Linked DNA regions of Homo sapiens: all the other regions are linked to region 1. The links are contacts of gene promoters, found by promoter capture Hi-C in blood cells and fetal thymus (Javierre and others, 2016). All regions are on one chromosome and are shown on one strand. Each heading gives the region's core, a stretch centred on a gene start or on the middle of the fragment in contact. The rest is flanking DNA. Distances are from core to core; before and after follow the strand shown. Region 1 holds the start of FAM91A1 (family with sequence similarity 91 member A1). Region 2 overlaps TBC1D31 (TBC1 domain family member 31). Region 3 overlaps TMEM65 (transmembrane protein 65). Region 4 overlaps ZHX1-C8orf76 (ZHX1-C8orf76 readthrough).

Region 1 (3,110 bases), core at 398-2,897:
TTCACCTGCTGAACTGCTATCATTAGCTAAAATAATAGTTTACAGGGATTTTTTTAAGCTAAATTGACTTTAATTTTCATTGTTACTTATATTGCATTAGATCTAAGTTAGACTTTGGAAGAATATGGGTTCTTCCACACTTAGAACTGTAAAGCATTATTTTAGAGGATGTTTATGTCGTTGACTTTGAATGAACATTGTCTAAATTGGAACAGGAGGTAGAAGAGTTCAGTGAGTGAGAGCCTGAGTTGGGGAACTGAAAGGATGGCTCTGGAGTGAGGATAGCCTTCGGCTCCAGTTTGGCTCTGTCAGTGCTACCTGTGTGATCTTGCGAGCAAGTCATGAAGCCCTGCCAAGCCTCAGTCTCCTCCTCTATCAAACTGGGATAGTAAGTGGTTACTGTTGTAGGAATATCAGGGTTGTGAGGAATAATCTATTGTCAAGTCAAGGCCTTAATACATGGCGGGCAGGTAATCAATATTTGTTGAATAAATGTCTCACGGTTAGAGTTCAGTTAACCTTAGCTATGCTGATGAGGATCTGTAAACATAAGGTTCAAAGCACTTATCTTTGGGTTATTATAGTTGGATAATAGGAGACCAAAACATCTAAGCAAGGGCAGTGTGTACTTGTCACCTTTATTTCATCAGACATAATGGGGTTTCTGCTAAGCATCAGACTTGCCAGCTGTTGAGGTGTGAGCTAGGTATCTTATAAAAAGTTCTAAGTATACATCTCCCAGTATATAATAAAACATTATTTAAAACCATTGTTAAAAACTGAAAAACAGTTGCAATAACACTGAACTTGTCTCTGGTTGCTGCCAGGAATAATGGTCACGGGTTTGCTAAGGCAGCGTAACAACTTCTGAAAGAAATTATTCCCAAAGACCTTATCACTCAATCTGAAATTAAGACATGCTGGATTTTTGCTTTTAAGTGACTCTGGAGGCATTTGTGTGGAGCAGAATAAAGCAGAAACCGACAGGCTGCATGACAAAGTTGGCAAGGGTATCTCTCTGTCAGCCCTGTAGGCTGCCTCGACCTGTCAGCACCACTGTTTAAAATTTCAGCTCCCTGAATCCCTGCATTGTAAGAATTTGGATCTTCTTGGGAAGTGGAGCCCAATGACGTGCAGCACACCGCGGAAGGGAAGAGGGCTTACCAGACCTTTGCTCTCCCACTGCCCATGCTTCTCGCTCAACCCGGTGCGAGACCTGACTTAGAGATTATTTCTTTCTCCAGGGCCCTGGACCCGTCCCCGCAACCCCCCGCCCCGTCTCACTGGCCCGGGTTCCGGGCTGGCCTGTGGAGAACCCCCGCGAGCGCACCGCACTCCAATGTAAAGCCAGCCACTGCCGGCCCGCTTCCCAGGTCGCTTTTCTCTGAAAACCGACCCCAGTGCCTCCGGCTTTACAATTTGAGTAAACTGGGTCATCAGCAACGGCAACGCAGACCCAAGCGACTATCGCCGTTCATTCAGAGACTGAAACGGGGAGACGAAGCGCGCGGGCGGGGAACGCTCACCCGGGCACCTCCCGGTACCTCGTCGTCGCCCCGCCCCGCAGCCTGTAGAGGGCGTGGCTAGAGGCCAGTCCGTGCCCCGCCCCTCCGGCCGCGCGCCAGCGGGCGGAAGTGACGTGTGCCCAGAGCCATTTCCGGCGGCCCGAAACTAGGAAGAAACTTGGAGCTGTTCAGGCGATCCAGCCTCCAATCGCTGCTGCTCTTGTACTCGGTTGGCCCGGGCGGCGCTGAACTGTCGGGAGCCTAGGCCATGGGGCAGCCTGGGCCTTCTGCAGTGTGAGGCGCGGGGCCTCCCGCGTCGCTCCGCTGACAGGCTGCGGGCGGGCAGGCGGGAGGCGTAGTGTGGGTCGCGGTGGCGGCCCCGGCCGCCGGCCCTGGCCGCGGCATCATGAACATAGACGTGGAGTTCCACATCCGGCACAACTACCCCTGGAACAAGTTGCCGGCCAACGTGAGACAGGTACGGCCGGAACCTGGGACCGGGCCCCTGACGGATTCGGCCCGCCCAGCGGTCACCTGCTTGCCTCGCTCGCGGGGCCCGAGCGGGCTGCTGCCGGCTGACTCCCTTCCTTTACTCCTCCGTGGTCTTGGGGAGACGGACCTTCAGCCCAGGGCGAGGAGGGGACGGCTGTGGGGCCACAGGGCCAGGACGGGGCGATCGCTAAATGGGATGGCATGGTGTCCACAGGACTCGACTGGCGCCTTTGCCCGCAGGATACATTCAGCCAGGCACCTGCGATAGAGATTTTAAACACGGTCCTTGACCTCCGGAATTTCAGGATGGTGGGAAAGGGATGGGAAACAAATGAATACGATACAGGATGATAGCAGCTCATACACACCTGCATTGTAGTATATGTGAGAGCAGAGGGAGGGAGAAATTATCCTGGGAGAGTTGGAAGGATTTTTAAGGCAGGCACTTAAATTGGGCCTTGGAGGACGAATAAGAGTTAAATAAGAGGGAATAAAGATTTTTCCAGGGGGAGGGAAAGTCATTTTACAAAGCTTGGATGAGTGAAAGAACATGTCTCATGAGTAGCAAGTGACTGTATCACCAGAGTTTGGACTGACATGTTTGGAGTTGAAGTTTTTTGAGTGCGCGGGGCTGGTAGCAGATGAGCCTGGAAAAGTGGTCAGGGCCAGATTTTGAAGGTGCTTGTGTGCTTTGTTTTGTTGGACTTTATCCTCCAGACAAGATGGGTTTATCAGAGATGTTTCAACAAGAGTGACATGAGGTTTTTGAAAGTTAATTCTCGATTTTTTTAGTCTGTTTTACTCAATTGTTTAATAGATATTTATTGACCACCTACTAGGTGCTGTGCGTTGCTCTAGGTGCAGGTAATTTGCAACAGTCAACAAGACAAAGACTGCCTTCATGGAGCTTACATTTTACTAAAGAAAGACGTAAACAAATAAATGAATAAATACGTAACATAGCAGATGGTTTTAAGTCTTACGAAAGTAGTGATATGGGCTACAGATAACGCACTGCTGCTCTGGTCATAGATTGACCTTCGCTTCCTCCCATTATACTTGGTCGAGAGTGAAATTCAGTTTTCTGTTGGCACTCGGCAGTGGCATTTTTGG
Region 2 (3,110 bases), core at 251-2,750, 620 kb before region 1:
CACTCCAGTTCTTGAGCACCAGCACTGCTGCCCAAAAACATAGTTGGAGGTTCTAACAGAAGTCTCTAACTAGGTTGATAATATGAAATTCATAACTATTTTGACATCCTTGTGAAAAAAAATCTCAGCGTTGTTTTTCAAAGCTATTGCATAGTTGAATTTTCTTGACTCTGTTCATTTGGGCTGGGCTCCCTCCAACAACCATTGAAAACATGTGTCTGCCCTGGGCACTCCGATGGAATTCTGGGCCCCAGCAGCAGTAGAATGGCCAAAGGCAAATGGCTTCATGCTGATGAGCTGACTTTTGATCCCTGGACGTGGTTCATTGGAGGGTTTGGGGTTTTTTAGAAGGGACAGGGTAGAAACATCTTACAGAAATGTAATCACAGCATTAGGCCATCCATAAAGAAGCTAACAATCTTCCCAGTAAAGTATATTATTTATTTTTAAAAGGGAGGAGGAGAAAAGACACTCTGTTAAACTTACTTTCAACTATTTTTTTTCAATAAAATTGCCATATAGATGAAGCAGTATTTAACAAGATCTTTTGACTTCTTTTGGAAGAACAAACTTTTATACAATGTCCCAAAAAGACGAGCTTTATAAGAAATATGCCTAATACCAAGTCATGAGATTCCAGTATTGTGTAAAATATTTTTGCTAACTCACATTTTTATATGCATCTATAAATTCTGTGCCAGAATATGAATTAAACCAAAAATCATTCAAGAGTCAGATGAAGTATGAGAGATTCTCAGCTACTCTCTATTCTGACATATCAAATGGTTATTTGGCAGCAAAATACAAAAGCATGAAAGTTGTATTTCTTTGGGAGGAAAAACAGTTTTTCAGAAATTGAAGCTGACTGACTATTTGAATATGTAACTAAATTTCAGAGAAGTATATTTTTAAGGGCTTTTAAAAAAAATTTCAGTGTTCACTAGCCCCTCTAAATCAGTAACGCTCTTACACTTGGACATGTTGTAGTATTTTAATCTTGATTCTGGACCTTCCTGATATTAGCCAATATTAAAAAGCATTTGATTTACTTATTTTTATTTATTTATTGGAAAGGTAATCATGGTGTATATTTCACAGTTTTATGACTTGGAATGCCTTTTCTCATTACTATTAAGCATCATTGTGAGGAAGCTTACAGTTGCACAAACTCAAATTCTCTCTTAAATTAACAAGCTTTGTTTCTAACTTAAGATTGTTTGTATCCCAAGTATTTCAAAGCAGAGAAGTTCTCTGTTAGCATTCATTCAGTCCAACAAATAATTATTTGGCTTGTAAATGGAACCACCTAGGGCCAGGTTATATGTAAAATTTAGGTTTTAGAATTGCATTTCATTATTTGTTTTTACAACACATTTATCTTTAAAATAAATGCTGTATCACCGCTAACATCAGAAAACTCAGCTTTTCTAAATTTTAAATTTCGTTTTCAAGTTTCTTTAAATAGAAGAGCAGTAGAATGGGACACCACGGGACAGAATCTTATTAAGAAAGTGAGAAATCTTCGCCAGAGACTCACTGCCCGGGCTCGTCACAGATGTCAAACCCCTCATCTTTTGGCTGCATAGAATGCATGTCACCTTGAGACGGTCGAGAGAGAGACCTATTTTGCAATCAGTGACATTGATTTTTAGATTATTTATTTAAAATTCCTATAAAGATCAGCCCTTTGTACAGAAAAATGTGTCTATAAAAATTATGTGTTATTTAATTCTGATACTTTTTGGCTTGTAAATGGCTTCTTGAACTTTTTACAATAAAAATGTTTTAGAAACTGTTAAAGCTGTGTTAAGCTTTCAGGTTGCAGGGACCAGCATAAACCTCAGTAACTTTAGTTGATAAAGGTTTATCTTAAAGATGAATAGAGAAATAAAGAACAGGAAACCATCTCAACAGCTCTATAGCCTGGACTGAGGGAGAACTCAGCAGCAGGTGGAGAGCGCCAGCAGCGTGGAGTGGCCTATATCACCATCTTCCTGCCCACCCCCGCCTCTGCCAGCGGGACCCCCTCTTTGTCAGGGACCCCACCGGACTTGTAACATCTCATCTCTGCCCAGCTCCTTCTGCCCTCTGCCTGCTTCTTCTGGCAGCACCGACTGCTCTTCCTCCCTCCCTCCACTTCCTAGCTCCAGAGTGGGGCTGCTTGTGACTTCCTGAACCTTACTCTCTAAAAGGAGGGTAGAAATACTTGATATGACGATTCAGTAAGATCAGGCAGGCCAGACGTGGTGGCTCACACCTGTAATCCCAGCACTTTGGGAGGCTGCGGTGGGTGGATCACTTGAGGTCAGGAGTTCGAGACCAGCCTGGCCAACATGGTGAAACCCTTTCTCTACTAAAAATAGAAAAATTAGCCGAGTGTGGTGGCACATGCCTGTAATCCCAGCTACTTGGAAGGCAGGGGGAGGGGAATCACTTGAACCCAGGAGGCGGAGGTTGCAGTGAGCCGAGATCACGCCACCGCACTCCAGCCTGGGCAACAGAGTGAGACTCCATCTCAAAACAAAAACAAAGATCAGGCCTAAAAAGTTCCTGGCCCAGTGCTTGACACATAGTAAGTATATAATATGTAGTACTAATTATTTTTTCTGGGGCCACGAAGCATAATCTTATGGTTTATCAAATATTTTCAGCAAAGTGCTCTCTTGCCCAATAAGCAAAGTTCTAAAATGATCTCCTGGCATTATACACGGCATTGGTTTCCCAAGAGTATTTTTCTCAGCCTAGTTTTCCATACGTTTTTAGGTGACTGCAAACATATGCCTGCATGGGCCAAGCTGGTGTGTGTTTTTTGACAACAGGAATCCCAGGATATAGAATATGTAGAGTGTGATGGGAACTTTGGTAGACTAGAATTGCCTGCTCACCGGAAAGCATTGAAATTCTAAAATTCTGTGGTTCTGCCACCCAGAAACAGCTGTCTATTGCAGTTTTTTACCTCTATTTCAGGTCCTCTTTGACTAGGATTTATACCTAGTCAGGTCTCTTTTGCAGCTACACACGCCACATACGCATACAAAACCCTCTTTTTTATATATAGAACTGCAGTAGTTAATTTTTGAAAAAAGTTCCTGTTCATTCAGTGAAAGTGC
Region 3 (3,110 bases), core at 156-2,655, 600 kb after region 1:
TAAACAATCACAAAAAATGGGGGACTACAAGATTAAAGTTTAGAATTATTTGGTTAATGTATACAGACGTAGATAAATGGTAAAAAATGTCAAAAGCACACAATTACCACTCACATAGAGTAATCAAAAAATGCAAGCTAATTGAGACCTAACATTGATAGAAAAACTGCTCTGTTCACCTCAATACATCTTTTATTTGCTATATGTAAAAACAATCTCATTTTTTAAATATCTTAAGTATACATATTATAACAAAAATATTCCCTAAGAGGCTCCCTTTTTCAAAACATATCTCTCATTGTACCTCTCCAATAGCCAGTTCTTGTCTCTCTGTGTAAACTCTCTGATGAGCATTAATTACACCACCTTAAATAATGTGGAAGCCAACCTCAAAGATGTACCCCCGATGATTCCCACTCCCTTGTATTCACACCTTGTGTAGTACTCTCCCACAATGTGTCAGGACAAAAGAGATGGACTGTCACTTCGAAGACTGCGTTTTAAAAGTCTGTGGCTTATAGTATACATATTATAACAAAAATATTCCCTAAGAGGCTCCTTTTTTCAAAACATATCTCTCATTTTACCTCTCCAATAGCCAGTTCTTGTCTCTCTGTGTAACTCTCTGATGAGCATTAATTACACCACCTTAAATAAGTGTGGAAGCCAGCCTCAAAGATGTACCCCCGATGATTCCCACTCCCTTGTATTCACACCTTCTGTAGTACTCTCCCACAATGTGTCAGGACAAAAGAGATGGACTGTCACTACTAAGACTGTGTTATAAAAGTCTGTGGCTTCCAGCTTAGGTGCCCACAGGTGCTGTCTTGCAAACACACTCGCTCTCTCTTGCTCTCTCGCTCTCTCATCACTTGCTCTAGAGGAAACCCACTGCCATGTCATGAGAATACTCAGGCAGCCCTGTGGAGGACCACATGGGAGGGAATTGAGACATCCAGCCAACAGCCATGTGAGTGAGACTTCTTGGAAATGGATCCTCCAGCCCCAGTTAAGACTTCAGATGATGCCACCCCAGCTGAGAGCTTGATTTCAACTTCTTAAGATCCTGGGCCAGAAATACTCAACTAAGATGCTATAGCATTCCTGAGCCTCAGAAATTATGAGTTAATACATGCTTGTTTTAAGCCACTGTGTTTTAGGATAATTTGTTATACCGCAATGGATAACTAATACAATGAGCACTGTCTATTTTTCAATACCAAATTGCTATATTTTAAAAGCTTTAAAAAATAATTATAAATGGAAATATTAATTACAAAAATTGGGAAGAAAATTTGTTTTAAAAATTTTGGCTAACATTGAAAGGCCACTGTAATAATGTCAGCTTGCCAGTACTACTTGTAAAAACATGAATAATGCTCTATCAGCAGAATATGGTCTGTTTCTGGAAGAAGAGAGATCAGGCTGAGCAGGTAAATTGAAGGCGCAAACTCAACTTTTTTTTAAATTGGGAAAGAAATTGGTTTGTAATTTTAAAAATCACAATATTCTATTTAACTATGATAAGATATCCCACAAGGTCTGCCTTATCTATTACGAACTGATTCCAAAGCTTTATCTCATCACAGATTATATCACATGCCTACTGATAAACATATAAGAAAGATAAGGGCAAATGTGCCAAATTTCAACAGCAGATTCCACTGCCATATCAAAGCATGGATGATATTTTTTCAGTAACATTTCCATACCAAATCCAAAACACTTCATTAGTTTATACAAGCACCCTTTCCAAAGACACACAAGATTGCCTATGGCAAGAAATAGCCCTTTAAATAGAATTAATTTTGTTAGAAAGTACACTTAGTACACACACACAATACATCGGTTGAGTACTTCAAAACATTATTCAAAAAGCAACAATAAAAGAAAACATGGGAGTTTTTCATTTATCTGGCTGGAAAAAAATTGTTGATTTCAGCAATGGAATGAGCTGTACGCATTCCCAACATAATAAAATCCCTTTTACCTTAATGATTAATGAATAAGGTAATTTCCTAAGTGATGATTCTAGTTATCTCCATAACTATATGTATTGATACTGAAAACAGTAAGTGAACACCAAGACTACATACACTAACAAAGCAGCAGCATCTGTGTCATTTGATTCATAGGACAATCATTTTGTCATCGACATCAGCAAAAATAGCTGATTTAAACTTTGATGTTCTTTAGCATATAAAGAGGAGAGATAAGCATCTGACTAACCATTGTTTCAAATATCCTTGACTGTTTCTCCTGAGCAAAGAAGACAATTTAAATTACTAATTTCTCTCTCATATTAGTAACATAACTAAGTTTAATTGATGCTAATGATCTCCATTGACTAAAGTGCTTAGGTCCTTTTCAGAATATTTAAAACCACGTTAAATTTAAAAATATTATCTTTATTAGGAAATGTAGCATTGCTACTGCAATACTGCTGGCATGTAAAAAATAATAATGTATGAGAAAAAAATTATTCAGTCACCTTGCAGGACATGTTTTTCAAGAACTGCCACAAAACTATATTCATAGGGCCCTCCAATCTTGTAACTTGTTGACAATGCAGAATTTCCAAGAAATTACTTGGAAAAGGTAAAATGTGTGTTCAAATAGTCTTGTCAGTGCAGAAAGATTCAAAAGTTAATGTTCTAGTACATGACTGACTATATTATTTTTCCAAGGAGCATATTTTCAGAATTGACTATTTTTAAACTGCATACTGAGTGCACACATAGATTACAAATGTGCTAGTGTTTCATTATGATTGCATATAACATCATGATTACACATTGAATAACGGAATTGATCGGACGTTACATTTTCCTGTAAAAGCACTGTGGGTAAACAATGTCTGGAATCAATCATCCACTATAAATTGGTCCACAATTTCCTGAACTGAGGGGGAAAACATCTGATTAAAAGCCACAACTAAAACAAGTTTCTGAAGTAGTACAGATAACGTCCTGCTTACATGAGGTAGATAATTCTTTCCTCCATTCCTGCACATCAGCTAAAGATATACTTTCAAGTCTGGCAAATCAAATGGCATGATCCGAATCAATGTGCTCTACACTTTGGAATCTATGAGATGTTTATGTACCTAC
Region 4 (3,110 bases), core at 274-2,773, 520 kb before region 1:
AAGAAAATGAAAATACAGCCTACAGAATGGGAAAAATACAGCTAATTCTCATTATTCACAGTTATTACATTCTATAAAGTCACACTGAATTAGCAAATCCTGAACACATGCTCCTAGGGTTAGGGTCCTGGGAGCCTCTGGTCACAATATATTTATCAATCAATCAAAACATCACCATGTTTTGTATTTTTCTGTTTAAAGACACCTTATTTAATACTGTTGATTGATTAACACTGAACTCATGACTAACAGCACTGTAACTCATGCCTGAATGAAGCTTATCTAACGCATATTTTCTCCATAGGGCACATGACAGCCTTCTAATATTTAGAAACACTGACAACACTTCAGCACTACACTTGGGACCATTTTAAACTGCAGAAAGCAGAAAAATATGGAAAACACAGCACTAAATAGACTACAAAAGGATGCTTTTTCATTCCTATGGACACACACACACACACACACACACACACACACACACACACACTTCTCTACAGTATGAGACCTGAAACAAGGCAAAGCATCTCTTTGGTTGACCTTTGCTGGGAACATCTTTTTGTTGCCATTCTGTACATGTGCAGGAATGACCAAGGAAGTACTATGAATACTGATTTGGGGGTTACAAATACATTTTAATGTGTAGGCAAATTTGCATATACAGAATCCATAATGAGGATCAACTTATTTGCAAATCATAATACAGACAGTCCCCAACTTATGATGGACTTAAGATGGATTTACTAACACATAATCCCATGGTAACCTAACCCCATAGTAAACTGAGAAACACATGGATTTATAATTTATGATTGTGACCAGGTGCAGTGGCTCATGCCTGTAATCCTGGCACTTTGGGAGGCTGAGGTGGGTGGATCACCTGAGGTCAGGAGTTTGAGACCAATCTGGCCAACATGGTGAAACCCCGTCTCTACTAAAAATATAAAAATTAGATGGGCATGGTGGCGGGCACCTGTAATCCCAGCTACTTGGGAGGCTGAGGCATGAGAATCGCTTGAACCAAGGAGGCAGAGGTTGCAGTGAACTAAGATGGTGCCACTGCACTCCAGCCTGGGCAACAGAGACTCTGTCTCAAAAAATAGTAATAGTTTATGATAGTTCAAGTTTATGGTGAGTTCATCAGGGTATTAAATGGATTTTCAACTTACAAAAATTTTAACTTACAATGGGTTTATCAGGACAAACCCCATTCTAAGTCAAGAAGCAACTGTATCTGATAAAGCTGTAACATCCAGAATATATAAAGAACTAAAACTCAGCAACAAAAAGGCAACCCAATTAAAAACTGGGCAAAGGATTGAACAAACTTTCAATATATTCAAAGGAAGATATACAAATAATTATGTGAAAAGATGTAGTTTTGATTTGCATTTTCCTAATGACATTATCACTCATCATTAGGGAAACACAAATCAAAACCACAATGAGACACCACTTCATACTTACTAGGATGGTTATAATTTTTATTATTTTATTTTTAGAGATGGGGTCTCACTATATTGCTCTCACTGGCCTCAAATACCTAGGCTCAAGTGATCCTCCCACCTCAGCCTCCCTGGTAGCTGGGACTACAGACACAGACCATCGCACTGGGCTTATAATCACTTTTTAAAACTGAAAATGAAAGGTGTTGGCAAAAATGTGGAGAAACTGGAATGCTTGTATATTGCTAGTGGAACGTAAAATGGTACAGATGCTTCAGAGAACATTTTAGCACTGTGGAAGAGTTTGGTGGTTCCTCAACAAATTAAACACAGAATACCACATGATTCAGGAATACTACTCCTTGATATACTCAAAAGAACTGAAAATGGGTACTCAGATCCTTGTATACCAATGTTCACCGCAGCATTATTCACAATTGCCAAAAGGCGGGAAAAAAACAAGTTTCCATCAACAGATACATGGATAAACAAAATGTGTGTGGGAGGAAGTGCACGTGTACAGACAAACACACACACACACACACAATAAAACATAAATCAGCCATGAAAAGAAACAAAGTCTTGATATACGCTAAAACATGGATGAACTTGAAAACATTATAAGTTAAAATAAGCCAGACACAAAAGGGCAAATATTTTAGGATTCTACTTCTTTGAAATATCAAGAATACACAAATTCATAGAGACAAAAAGTAGATTAGAGGTTACCAGGGGCTGGGAGGAATGGGGAGTTATTGCTTAATGGTTCCGAGTTTCTGTCTGGGGTGATGAAAAACTTTTGGAAAAGTGGTGAAGGTGGTGCAGCACTGTGAATATAATTAATGCCATTGAATTTACACTTAAAAACTGGTATAATGGCAAATAGTATGTGATATATATTTTACCACAATGTTTTAAAAATTGACTTTGTTAATAAAATGAAAAAAAAAAGGTCACTGTAAACTACTAATCACTACTTTTATTTTGTATTCAAGGTCACAATCAACCAGAAGAGGGTTCTTTTGCTCTGTCAAATAAATATATTTAAAAGCTAGCAAACGTCAGAGAAGAGTTTTATCAGGCCTATAAAAGAGATGAGGGAAATTAATAGTTATATACAGCTACACAGAGTTAACATATTGCAAGGGAAACAACTATATTCAAAGGCTTCATTTCTAATACTTGACATTTCAAATTTTGAGAACATTAAAATTATTGTCAAACAAAACTCAGACCACATTAGCAATGTTTATAAAAGGGAGCAATTTAATCATTATATTACAGAGTGCTTTAAGAAGTTTTTAAACGTGTAAAAGAAAAAAAAAAAGCTTAGTGCATTACGGTCTTTACATTGCTTCTTTTTTAAAAAAGTTAACAGTAGTATGAAAAAAGCCACCCACAAAGCCAGCTGTCTGAGTGAGGAAATCAGCTACATTGCAGCATTTTGGAATTACTAATAAAGCTATAGTTAAAAAATAAAAAGTTTATAAAAATGAAAGCAGCATGCATATTCAAGGCTTTTTCATAACATTTTCAATGGCTGAAAAACATTTAACCAAGAGCTTAATATTTATTATCCATTAAATTAGAGAAAATAAACTGGCTAAGCCTACATCTGGTCATTCAGAAAAACATGTTAAAATCCAAAGCTAATTAAACTGAACA

Evidence for each region. The method cuts DNA at HindIII sites, captures the fragments that hold promoters and counts their contacts. A CHiCAGO score of 5 or more calls a contact.
Region 2: a fragment that was not itself captured here is called in contact with the fragment with the promoter of FAM91A1 in region 1 in 1 of 17 cell types (total CD8 T cells); the score reaches 7.1 in total CD8 T cells.
Region 3: a contact is called between a fragment that was not itself captured here and the fragment with the promoter of FAM91A1 in region 1, in 2 of 17 cell types (fetal thymus and total B cells). The highest score is 7.9, in fetal thymus.
Region 4: a contact is called between a fragment that was not itself captured here and the fragment with the promoter of FAM91A1 in region 1, in 1 of 17 cell types (fetal thymus). The highest score is 5.0, in fetal thymus.

Annotation. Positions count from the first base shown.
Region 1 is chr8:123,766,792-123,769,901 of GRCh38, forward strand. It overlaps FAM91A1 (family with sequence similarity 91 member A1), which reads left to right and starts at 1,648. Exons shown (of 24, transcript NM_144963.4): 1 at 1,648-1,983. The coding sequence starts at 1,912. RefSeq lists a silencer at 1,834-1,983. The HindIII fragment of the contact is 7,175 bases long and covers 1-2,526 here.
Region 2 is chr8:123,150,354-123,153,463 of GRCh38, forward strand. It overlaps TBC1D31 (TBC1 domain family member 31), which reads left to right. Exons shown (of 22, transcript NM_145647.4): 22 at 1,453-1,800. The coding sequence ends at 1,586. Among named protein-coding and RNA genes, the nearest start is that of TRM-CAT1-1, 5.4 kb to the right of the region's middle. The HindIII fragment of the contact is 617 bases long and covers 1,193-1,809 here.
Region 3 is chr8:124,367,731-124,370,840 of GRCh38, forward strand. All of the region lies in intron 1 of TMEM65 (transmembrane protein 65), which reads right to left. Among named protein-coding and RNA genes, the nearest start is that of TMEM65, 3.4 kb to the right of the region's middle. The HindIII fragment of the contact is 332 bases long and covers 1,240-1,571 here.
Region 4 is chr8:123,246,052-123,249,161 of GRCh38, forward strand. All of the region lies in intron 2 of ZHX1-C8orf76 (ZHX1-C8orf76 readthrough), which reads right to left. ZHX1 (zinc fingers and homeoboxes 1) reads right to left here. Exons shown (of 4, transcript NM_007222.5): 4 at 2,405-3,110. Among named protein-coding and RNA genes, the nearest start is that of C8orf76, 6.2 kb to the left of the region's middle. The HindIII fragment of the contact is 2,496 bases long and covers 276-2,771 here.